2 separate regions of the Homo sapiens genome follow, and region 2 is linked to region 1. Evidence: promoter capture Hi-C in 16 types of primary human blood cells and fetal thymus (Javierre and others, 2016). All regions are on one chromosome and are shown on one strand. Each heading gives the region's core, a stretch centred on a gene start or on the middle of the fragment in contact. The rest is flanking DNA. Distances are from core to core; before and after follow the strand shown.

What was found. The method cuts DNA at HindIII sites, captures the fragments that hold promoters and counts their contacts. A CHiCAGO score of 5 or more calls a contact.
Region 2: a contact is called between a fragment that was not itself captured here and the fragment with the promoter of SLC6A17 in region 1, in 1 of 17 cell types (neutrophils). The highest score is 5.3, in neutrophils.

The regions. Positions count from the first base shown.
Region 1 is chr1:110,147,053-110,152,805 of GRCh38, reverse strand. It overlaps SLC6A17 (solute carrier family 6 member 17), which reads right to left and starts at 2,312. Exons shown (of 12, transcript NM_001010898.4): 1 at 1,923-2,312. RefSeq lists an enhancer at 345-639 and a silencer at 2,268-2,317. The HindIII fragment of the contact is 4,529 bases long and covers 1-3,542 here.
Region 2 is chr1:110,479,862-110,485,614 of GRCh38, reverse strand. It overlaps the pseudogene CYMP. Among named protein-coding and RNA genes, the nearest start is that of CYMP-AS1, 7.5 kb to the left of the region's middle. RefSeq lists an enhancer at 1,758-2,336. The HindIII fragment of the contact is 7,718 bases long and covers 1-5,753 here.

The DNA.
Region 1 (5,753 bases), core at 1,063-3,562:
AGCACCTGGCTCAAAATAAGCCTGCAGAAATAATATCATAGGCATCCCTGTTTTACAACTGAGGAAACTCTGAGACTCCCGAGGTGAATTGACTTGCCCAAGGTCACCCCACTGGCACATGGCAGAACACTGGGCCCAGTTCTGACCACAATCACAGAGCCTTTCCTTACCCTCCCCTTCACCTCTCCCCATCTCCCTGCCCAGCCCAGCCTGGCCCTGCTCACCTTCCCAAGGAGTCAGAGCTCCAGGACCCTTGCTCAACAGCCAGAGCTCTGCTTAGCTCCTTCAGAGGACTTGCCCACCTCTGCCCAAAACACTTGGGCTCAGGCCATTCCTGCTCACGAGTCCTGCTAAAGAACTCCAATCAACTCACAAACAGCTGACACACGACTCTGTGTGTGACTCAGGCCAAACAAACTCACTCCAATCAGAGCTGGTGGGCACCATTTGCCTCCTGCACTGAGTCACCCTCCAGGCTGAGCTTCAGGGATTCGCTGAAACTCAACCACCTACTTAGCCACAGATGTTCCATTGGAGAAAAATCCGGCAGTGGAGCTAAAGCCTCTGACGGTCCTCGTGGATGAGCCATGGCCAAGGACAATCAGGTGTGACCTCAAAGCTCTTCCTGCCCAGGTGATGGGTCCGCCTCACAGAGCCATGGGATAATGTAAGCACAGAACGAGACACAAGAACTCCCCACTGTTAACCTCAACACACTCTGACCTTGTTCTCCAGACATCAGTGAGCGTGTCCAGCAAGGCCTTAACAGTTAGGCGCTAACTAAAGTTTTGGCCGAATTTTTTTGGAGCCATTACAGGATTGTCTTTGTTCCTGAAGTTCCTGTTAACAAGGACAATGCCCGGAAAAGAATCTTCCTCCTCATTACCACTTCCCTGTCTCCCCAACCCACCCCCATCTGCCTCAAGTTCACAGCTGAATTGCCCAAAGGTAGCTCTGGTTAGAAATCTCGTAATCCAAAAGGCCTGTTAAAGTATTTCTTAAAAAAAAAAAGGAAAGAGGAATGGCATCAAAAAATATTTTCTAAAGCCAACTTGACAGGGCCTAGGTCCTGTAAGGTGAATGGCCTTGGGATTTCTGAATTTGATTTCTGACAGGGCTGTCTGGGCTTTAAAAGGAAACATCACGCTTCTTTCCAAGGCAGCCGCGCCCCTGGGGAGCGGCCCACCCATAGTACTGCGAGCATCCAGCATCGCTTCAGAGCACGGCGCACACAGGCATAAATGCAGCAGAGGCCTCTCGACCCGCCAGGACGGCGCCCCCTCCAGATGGGCACCACACGCACGTCCCCTGTCTCAGCCATTCCGTTCCCCAGATGCGCTTCCCACGAGGGAGGAAGGGCTCTCTGCTAGCTCCGAATCCAGCGAGGACCAGCCCCAGGACTGAGAATTAAATATTCATCTCGGGCGTGACAGTTCTGCTTCGCTTGCCAATGTTACTGTCAAGGTCACAGGCCTGAGGCCGAGCGGCTGGGGCTGGGGTCTCCAGCTGCGTAAGAGGCTCCCAGTGGAACTGCGCCCTGGGCGCGCAGTTTCAAGCCGCGGATGGGCCGGACAGGCCCCCTCCGGTTCTCCGCGGGCGCTTGCCTCCGCAGCTAAGCCCAATTTCCTCCGGAGTTCTTGGGCCCTTCTGAGCACCAGAAGCTGAAGCCCGGTGTCCAACCCGTGCGTACGCCGCTGGGGACCCCGATGCGCGAAGGAGAGCGGGCCCCGGGGCTCCGTCGCCAGGCAACGGCGGCTGGAGCGGCGAGAGGAGCCCGGGACGAGCGCAGGGTCGGGCGGATGCGGGGGCAGCGCCGCCTCACACCTTGGTCCTCAGCCCTCCCTGGCTGGGGCGGGGCCAGAACAGGGAAAGTTGCAGTGGCCGGCCCGGTAAAGCCAGGCGGGGCGCGGCCAGCGACTCACCTGTCACGCGTGGGTAGTCGCGCAGACTCGGCCCGTGCACTCCGGCCGAGCAGCTGCGATCCCCGACGGGTCGCGGACGCACAGCTCCTCCCCCGGGCCACAGGCCCCCGGCTGGGGCTGGGGCGACCCGGAGCTGCGCGCCGGCGCACGCGACTCCGCTCGCTCCTCACTCCCTGCCTCACCACCAGTCCCAACCTGGCTCCCGCCCGCCGCGCGCTCGGGGCTCAGGGGAGCGGCGCGGGGACCCAGGTCCCACGGCGGAGAGAGCGCGCGGGATTGCGAAGACTGGGGCCGAGTGCCGCCCTCCCTGCGCCCTGGCAGCGCCGGCTCTGCGGAGCAGAACGGAGCTGGGCGGAGCGCTGCGCGCACTGTTCCCTCGCTTTCCGAAAGGCCACCCTGGCGGCGGGGCGCCGTGACGCAGGCTTGACTCACGCGCGGGCCGGCGTCAATGCGAGGCTCTCGGGCAGCGAGCGAGGCTCTGATGGCCGACGTAGGCGGAGAGGGTGGGCGTGGGGCGGGAGAGGGAGTTGCAAGGGGGCTTAGCTTCTTGAGGCCCCTGGTCAGGGGATGCAGACCCTGGAGCCCTCGCCAGGGCTTCTGCCCTCGGAGAGGAATGGGGCCCCAATGGTTAAAGCCCTCCTGGACCCTGGGCCTCACTTTCTTCTTTTCAGACTCACCTCTTTTGGCCTTCTTTAATGAACTCAATCTCAATTCATGTGGTTATTTCCCCTGCCCTAGACATTTCCACCTCCGTGCTTCTGTTCCCTTTCCTCTAGATGTCCTTCCACTCCTCCGTCCTTCCATCCTACCATTCTGCAAGGCCGTTCCCTGTGCAGGTCAACTCTTAGGACATCACTCATCTGTTGAGCACCTACTGTATGCCAGGGGCTGCAGAGGCTGAAAGGATCACAGACGTGAGGGAACCTCCTGGAGAGGCAGTGTGGGTTGACCCAGGTCTTTACAGTACAAAGCGAAAGGATTGGAGAACCGTACAAGATGAGTAAAGTGGGGAGACAGTGACAGGGAAATTCTGACTGGTCTCTGAGTAGGCCTCTTGGAAGATCCTGGCCTAAAGGATGGACAGTCAGAAGGGGAGAAGGATGACCCCTGTGGAGTGGACAGCATGGCAAGGGCATAGATGCAAGAGAGTAGAAACGTATGCGTGGGGTGGGGTGGTGGTTGCCTGAGCTGGAGCAGGGGTGGGGATGATGAGAGGTGAAGTTAGACAGGGAGGCAGGAGCCATCCTGCCAGGGCCTTGGGGGGCTGTTATGAGAGTCTGGATGAATTATCTCTCTTCTAGGGAACACTAAGGGGGCCTTTGGCATCCAAGGGAGGTGTTTGGGAGGAATGGGAGATGGAGGTTGTCTTAGTGAAAGGTGGTAAGGGCCATTGTCAAGAACTCTGAAGAGTCTGAGATTTTACACTTACAATCTAAGTTACCCTGCCAGTTTCATGGATGCCATCAGAAGACAGGAAACTCTGGGCCAGACACAAAGGACTTTAATTACTCATGGCACAGCAGGCTGCAAGAGCTTCACATTCAGATCACCTTCCCTTAACTCTGAAGTCCTATGGGTGGGACATGAGACTGGACCACACACACTGAGAAACTCCAAGCTTAGGAAACCTCAATCTTTTATAATGCGCTGCAAGCAAACTTGCCCGACATTTGCCTTAGACATATCTTTATTATACTGGACAGCAAACAGAACTGCTCTCCACTAGAGGGAGACGCTATCGTTGGAGGCTGTTTGCTATGCAACCATCCTCTAAAAGATAATGGGAACAAAAAAGCCATCAGTGCCTCTGCCCACAAGACTTGTGGGAACACAATAAACCCATAGAGAATTATCTCCTGATAGAAAAATTCTTTCAACAATTATTTAGTGAGCCTAATGGTTACTTTACACTGTTCCAGGCCCTAAGGAGACAGCAAAAAATGAGACAGATAATAATCTCTGCCCTTATAGGGTTTACATTCTGGTGGAAGCAACCAGGGAAGCAGATGGGGTGGAGTGGCATGGCAGGAAGTAGCAAGAGACAGGACAGAGATGAACAAATAGAATGTGACAATTGACGTGGTATGGGAGGTGGGAGGAAGGAACCTATCAGAGATAGGCAGTATTAAGGCAAGAGAACTTACAGGTGGTGTGGTCATGGAAAGGGGAAGGACTTTGGAGCCTCATAGATCTAAGTTTTCATCCTGACTGCCATTTACTAGAGACCTTGAGCTAGTGACACAACCTCTCTGAACTTCTGTTTCCGTGTCTGTAAAATGAATGGTACATACCTCATAAGGTTGTTATGATGATCATGAGATGATTGTTCTAAAATATCTGTTATTGGCCAGGCACGGTGGCTCACAGCTGCAATCCCAGCACTTTGGGAGGCCAAGTTGGGAGAATTGCTTAAGCCCAGCGTGGGCAACATAGCAAGTGCTCTTCTCTAAAAAAAAAAAAATAGTAAAATATCTGTTATCATATCTGATAACATGTTCTTAATAAATAACTGTTATTAGGGGTATTACTAGGTGATTGTATTGTTATTAACCAAGATGGGGAATTTAGAAAGAGGAGCAGATTTGGGGAAGAAGGTAAAGAGATAATGGATTTGGGACATATTGAAAATGACATGTCTGTGGGATATCAAGGTGACAACTAGAAGATGCCCTTGCCTCACTGCCTTTTATCACATCTACCCAGTGAAACCCCACCCTTGAATGAACTTAATACCTGGTTTCTTTGTGCCAAGTTCTCTAGACAGAAACACACCACAGACCAGTCTCTGTCTGCCTTCATGGCCACCAACTTCAAGTGGGCTCCTCACACTTCCTAAGGACTTCCCTGTAATTCTCTGGTCAACTTACTTCCCCACTCTGATCAAGGCCATTCCAACCAGAACTCTCCCCAAACACTCATCCTACTTTCCCCCCACGTCATACTTCCCTGCTGTCTCAGGAACTGCCTTACTTCATTTGGAAGACCCCTCGGTTTTCCAACGAGAATTAAACCGTTTCCATCTGCACATACCCTCTTCTCCCTCTTCCCTGGATATGGTAGGGAGAGTCTCTCCTCTGTAGACCAGCCTCCACCTGTCCCCTGGGTCCCATGGCCCCACACCTTCTTGAGAACCTCAGCTACCCATTAGTTAATCCAGTCTCTCCTGTCTGTCTCATTAACTTTCCCTTTCTCTGGATGCTTTTTAGCAGCTCGAGAGCATATGCAAATATCTTCCTTTAAAATGTCACTAGAGTCCATCTCAAAAAAAAATGTCACTAGGCTCTCATCCCTCATTTCTTCATTTTCTGCCTCCATTTCCTCACCCCTACACACTCCTTAACACACTTCTGCCCCATCATGCTGCCAAGAAGGGTCTCACTAAGGTCACCAGTGACTTCTGTGTCACTAAATCCACAGGACATCTTCCAGTCCTCATCTTACTGACCTTTCTGTAATGCTTATTGTGGGTGCCCTCTCCTTCCTTCTGACACTCTCTTCCCTCCCCTTCTGGAATTCTGCGCTCCCAGGTTTTCCTCCTAGCCTTCTGCTCACCCCTCAGTTTCCGTTGCTGATCTTTAAGTGTTGGACGTCTCGCAGCCAAACCCTCTTCTCACTCTGTACCCTTCCTAGACCATCTCCTACACTGATGACTTCTGCATGTCTGTCTCCATTCCAGACAGTCTTCTGAGCTCCACATATTCACCCTCCAACTCCACCTTTCCACTTGGCTCCACAGAGCTACACATGTTGAAGAAATGAACTCAACATTCAAAGATCTACCCTGCAGAACATTCAGCAGTTGGCTTCTTGCTTCTCCTCCTGTGCTCCCTG
Region 2 (5,753 bases), core at 2,162-4,661, 330 kb before region 1:
CATCCACTGGGTACCTACTATGTGCCCATCACTGTATTAGGTACTTTGGAGGCCAAAAAGAGTCAAGGGAAAGGGGAACCCTTATCCTAGAGGGACAGGTGCTCTCGGACCTGAAAGAAGATGCTGCTCTGACTTATAAAGCATGAGGTCAAACCAAGAGCACTGCCCTGAGAGCCAGAGGCGAGGTCCCACACTCAGCTCCCCCAGGCACCAGCTGTGTGACTTCAGGTAAGTTATCAACTACAAGCCTCGGTTTCCTCATTTGAACAACGAGGATAATGACATCTTCCTCAAAGGGCTGTTGGAAAAACAAAATTTAAAAACAAGACTATACATAGGACACTGAAGAGCTCAGTCCTGGCACCAGCTCAGAATTCGGAACTAACTGTGTCAAGGATGCATGGAAAAGGATCAGGGAGACGGGAACCTGGACCTGAGAGTGCCCTCAGGTGGGGCTCTGGGTGCTGCCACAGGAAGAAGAGGCGGGAGGAAGGGACAGCCGACAGCTGGCTGCTGGCTAAAATCCCTCTCCTTACCTCCTGAGCCACCAGGGCAGGCAGCACCTAAAGGGCTTCTCAGCACAGTGGAGGTGTGGCCCACCGGACCGTGTGGGCAGAGAGTGGCTGGTGGGAAAGGCACAGTGAGCACTGGCCGGCGCAGCACCACTTACGGTGACAGTGTCATAGCCCAGCAAGCCCCGCATGCTGCCTGTGCCATACTGGATGGACAGGGACTTGCCCATGTTCTGTGGGTGGAGGACTTGGACGGATCGAAGCGTTGGTGGTTTTCTGAAACACAGACCCAGAGTTAGTGGGGCCCTTAGAATCTTCTCACCACTCACGGTGCCAGCCAGGGCCGAACCCCTCAGCAGGCCTTGTAAGAATATGGCCTCAATACTGGCAATTCTCTCTATAGAGAATAAGCAGCCCATTCTTTCTAAAGCCTTGGTCCCACAGTTTAAAAAAGAACATGATTCTTTGTTGCTTGCCCTACCTCTCTGACTTTCAGTGCTACCTACGTAGCTTCTACACAAAAATGAAAGGGAAAAGCCCCGCTGAAGATTCCGTGGATGTTTTGCTTTTATCAGCTGAGTAATCTTAGCCAAGTCCCTTTTCCTCTTCAAACCTTAATTTCCCCATCTGTCAAATGGGGATAAAAAGAGCACCAATCTCCCAGGATTGGTGGAGAAATAAATAATTAATGTGTGTTAAGCATGTATTCATTATTTGTAATAGACCTTCTCACTTTACTCTCCCAGCACTCACTGGCACATCATAGCCCCATTTTATAGAAAGGAAAATTCAGCATCCAAAAGGGTAAGCAGGTTGCCTTGGCTCCCAGTAGAGACAAAAAATAAAATAAAGGTCCCTAATTTTTAACTAAAACCCGTGATTTTCAAATCTTCCCAGTCTGTGGCCAGTTGGGAGGATGAGTGAGGAGATCGACCACAACTAGGAGGCTGGGAAGGTCAGAGCCAGCTGTCCTGCCACCCCACGTTTCCCCCCAGCCACCCTGACCACCCTGGCCACTAGGCCAGGGCATCCAAGCATGAGGGGCTGGGTCAGGAGAGGGCGGTCACTCACGACAGGCATCACTGTTGCAGTAGACAGAGGGCACCCAGATATCCGGGGAGCCTGTATCAAACACCAAGGTGAACTTCTGGGGAAGGGTCCCGATGTAGATCTTCCCAAAGTACTGACACTGAAGACAGACGGCACTGGGTCAGAGGTGGGAGCATCAGGGGGCAGGAGGGTGTGGATTAACGGTGGGCGGGGAGCAGGGGCACTTGTGGAGCCCCTGTGCTTTCTGCCCAGAGACCTGGGTGTCTCAAGGAGGGGGAAGATACTGAAGAGGGTTCTTGACCTCCAGCCCTCACCTGGGCTCCCACCCCCAGACACACTTGGCCTCATCCTTCCACAAGTCCTACAACCACTGCTGGAATCAGCCTCAGAAGCAGACCTGGGTCCTAAACTTAAATCCTGCCTGGGTGGGACATGGGCCACCCCTGCCAGGGCAAAAAGAATCTGGACAGAGAGGTGGGGCATCAGCTAGGTGTGGGCTCCATGTTCCGGCCCAAGTGGCCCCTGCCACGCGCGCCTCCTCGCCAGCTCTCCCCACTGTCAGAGCAGAGGCTGGGGGCGGGTGGCGAAGATGACCTAGATAAGAAAATGAGAGCACAGAAGAGAAAAAAGGCTGGTTGTTTACTGGCAAGAGTGACGGCTGAGAGAAAGACAAGCTCCAGGAAAGAACAGGTACCAGGGGCGCTCCTGCCTGGGTCCTGGGTGGGAGGAAGAGCAAGCTGGCAGCCGCGTCCTGGGCAGCTGCAGAATGGCACCCGCTGTCTCCATCCCTGCTGAGCCAGACTAAGACAGAACTTCCCCAGCCCGGAAGGCAGGTGCAGGGTTGGGATGGTAGGCGGCGTTGGGGAGGGGGGCAGTTCATGCACTCTTGGGGGATGTTGTGTGAGGAAGGCGCCTGAGCTCAGACCCTCCTGGTGGTGGCATTCAGAGCTGGCAGGCAGGAGCACTGTCTTTTCTGGGTCGACCAGCCCCTCGTGGAGCTGACTGAGGGCAGGGAGACTGCCTCTACCACAGACTCCAAGATTTCTCGAAGAGAAACAGCTGTGGTGAGGCAGGGGCCGAGGGGCGCTTTCCACTTCGTTAGTGGAAAGGCTGGCAGAGCCACTCACATCCAGGTAGTTGGTCAGAGACTCGCTGGCCACCACCCCAGAGCTGGAGTGCTTCCTGCTGACTGCATAATGGTGATTCCTCAGGAAGTCCTCCAGGAGCCTGCGCTCCTTCAGGGCCCTCCTCAGCGACTTCCCTTTGTGCAGAGGAACCCTGAGGAGATGGGGAAGAATTTGTAAGGAGGGTGTGCATCTCCCGCAGGCTGCCCAGCCTCCCAGAAGTGGGCTCCATAAACCACTCGGTACACTCTGTTCCCAGCCAGCCTTCTGATCAATGGCCCACTGACCCCAGGTCAAGGGCTTTCAAACTTTTTTTAAATCATAACTCAAAGTAAGAAATGTATTTTATATCGGTTCAAAAATCAATGCCTATCCTTGCTAACTGCAATGCACTCTCATATTTTATATTGCTTTCTCTTTTTCTAATGCTGGTGGAGACCCATTAGAGGCATTTTGCAACCCACTAATAAGTTTCGAAACCCGTGGTTTGAAAAGCACTAAGCACATTATCACTCATTCAGTCACCAAATTCTTGCTGTGCCAGATACTGTACAGGGCACAGGGGACACAACACTGGAAAGGACACCGTCTCTGCCCGCCGGGAGCCCACTGTCTGCAGTGAAAAACGGTGTCTCCCACAAGCTGACAAATGCTACGACAATGATCCTGCCCTCTGTCAATACCCTTTCTCCGCTCTCTGGATAGCTTTTTCCCTAAGACGAGTGGAAAATTCTCAAACGGTTTCTCAGCACAGAGCCTGGTCTCACAGGGGCCTCCTGAGGGAGCTCGAGTTTTAGATGATGGAGGCAGATCAACAGTGAAGAGATCAAGAGAGGAAATGCAGAAACTGGTTCTAGACCTGGCACTGCCCTGTCTGTGTCAACTTGGGTGGCTCCCCAAAGCCCTCTGAGTTTCAACTCCCTTAGGTTAACCCCTTCCTTTCCAGCCATTCTCCTGGCCCTGCGTTTGACTAGCCCTATGGCTTAACCTCTCTGGTCCTTAGTTTCCTCTCCTATAGACAGAAGTAGAACTCAGTGATTCCCACAGTCCCTTTTACCTCTAAGAATCACGTGGTCCTCCTCTGTGAGACTGTTGAGATGTGCTTTGAGAGCCATAAATGGCAGCAGTGTTAAAACTCACAGAGAGAATGGATTTTCGCAGGCTGTTCACATCCCAAGTGCTGGGGCAGATAGCGCACCTGGGACCTGGAGGAACTTTATTTTCAGGACTGCCACAAAGATTCCGGGCCAGTTGAAAGCACCCTGACCCCTTTTCTGGGATCCAGCTTTCCCAGGGAGTAATCGGGGCTTCTCTGTGCTCAGGGCTTGACCAGACTCAAACCTGAGCACCTGTAGATTACCACGTGATGTGATGGCAAGAGTGCAAATCCACGGAGGCCAAGTCCTAGCTCCTCCATTACTAGCCATGCAGCCTCGGACAGCTCAGGGACCCTCCTTAGGAACCCTTCCTAAACAACAGTGTCTCATCTGTAAATTGCAAATGATAATATGTACTTAATCCATGAGGATTAGTGGCTTAGTGGAGTGCCTAGCACCTAGGAGCAAACAGCTCAATCAATGTCAGTTATTACTTTGGGAGGAGAACCTGAGATCTTCACCCACAAAGGATTAGTACAATAGGGAACTTTATTTTGTTTAACAAATGCATACATAGCTCTTACAGTGTGCATCGTTTGAAGCATTTTTTAAATATTAACTCCTATAATCCTCACAACATCCCTATGAGATGGACACTACCATTATTCAAATTTTATGAACAGAGGAGGAAACTGAGGCACAGAGAGTTAAGTTAGTGATGGAGCTGGGGATCAAACCCCAGGTAGTTTGACTCCAGAGCCATGCCCTATCCTCCCAGTTGCCCATCTGGCTCCCTGTTCTTTTCACCACACTGTGAAGTGCTGGGGTAAACAGAAGCAAAGGTCCCAGCATGCAAAGGCAAGACTGACAGGGAGCTGTTACCCTGGGAACTTGCAGCACTTCTCCCAAGACTCCCTGGGGGACCAATGGCTGGAAGACCAAGGACAGACCTCCCAGAGAGGACGATGAGATGCCCTTGCCCTCCCCTGGGCTCTGACACTCACCTGGTGATGGCATTGACCTCAGAGAGAGCAAAGACTGCAAGGAATACCACAAGGCCCCTCATCCTGGACTGCAGACTGGCCACTGCTCCAGCCAGAGCCCACTCCACAGCCTTTATAGAGGGAGCCAGGTGTCCTGTGGCTGGAAGCCCAGACTTCAGAGATAGCTCCTGACTGTAGGTCACTCCACAAATACAGTGAGACAACACTCAGGATACCTAAGACCCATGCTGATAAGGACCACTCACACCGAGTGAGGCCATCTGTGGCCCTTATCAGCATGGGGCTTAGGTATCCTGAGTGTTGTCTCAGAATATCTGTATTCCAGGGACTTCAAAGTTGAAGGATATACATGCCTGGTCTTCAGCCTGAGAAATGTCAACATAGGCCTCTCTGACCTGCTCCCCACTTGCAGACGGGACTTCTCGAGCCAACACAGGGGAGGCACTGCCAGAAATGTGTTCCATGTTCCACCTTATGCACTGTAAGAGGCCTGTTCCCCACAGATCCCACTCCAACCTTATCTGCCTCCCCTCCCGTGATCTGACTCCACTGGAAGCTGATAGCCTGCCCTATCCATGAATCTGCCCCCAGCCCAATTTTCTAGTGGCAGGGGTACTCGGTCTTCCCTCAAAGTGGCATCTGCGGCAGAGAGGAATTGTTCATTCTGTCATCCCCGTGAGTGGAGCTTGGGGTTTAGAGCACAGAGCAGGTGTGCCCTCCACTCCTACAGAGCACAGTCTAAGAGAGAAGGCAGGCCCAAGGCACATGCACCCCTAGGGACATAGGCCCTGTTCCACGGTGGAAGGGTGCTGAGGAGGGGAGGGGTAAATCGATGCCAGATCACACTGGCATTGGAAGAACGGGGCAGGGCTGAACCAGGAAGGCAGACAAGTGCCCCCACATAGAAGAAGAAGGGAAATATGGCAGTGATACGGTAGGGAACAGCTTAGGCCAGGACTCAGCCTC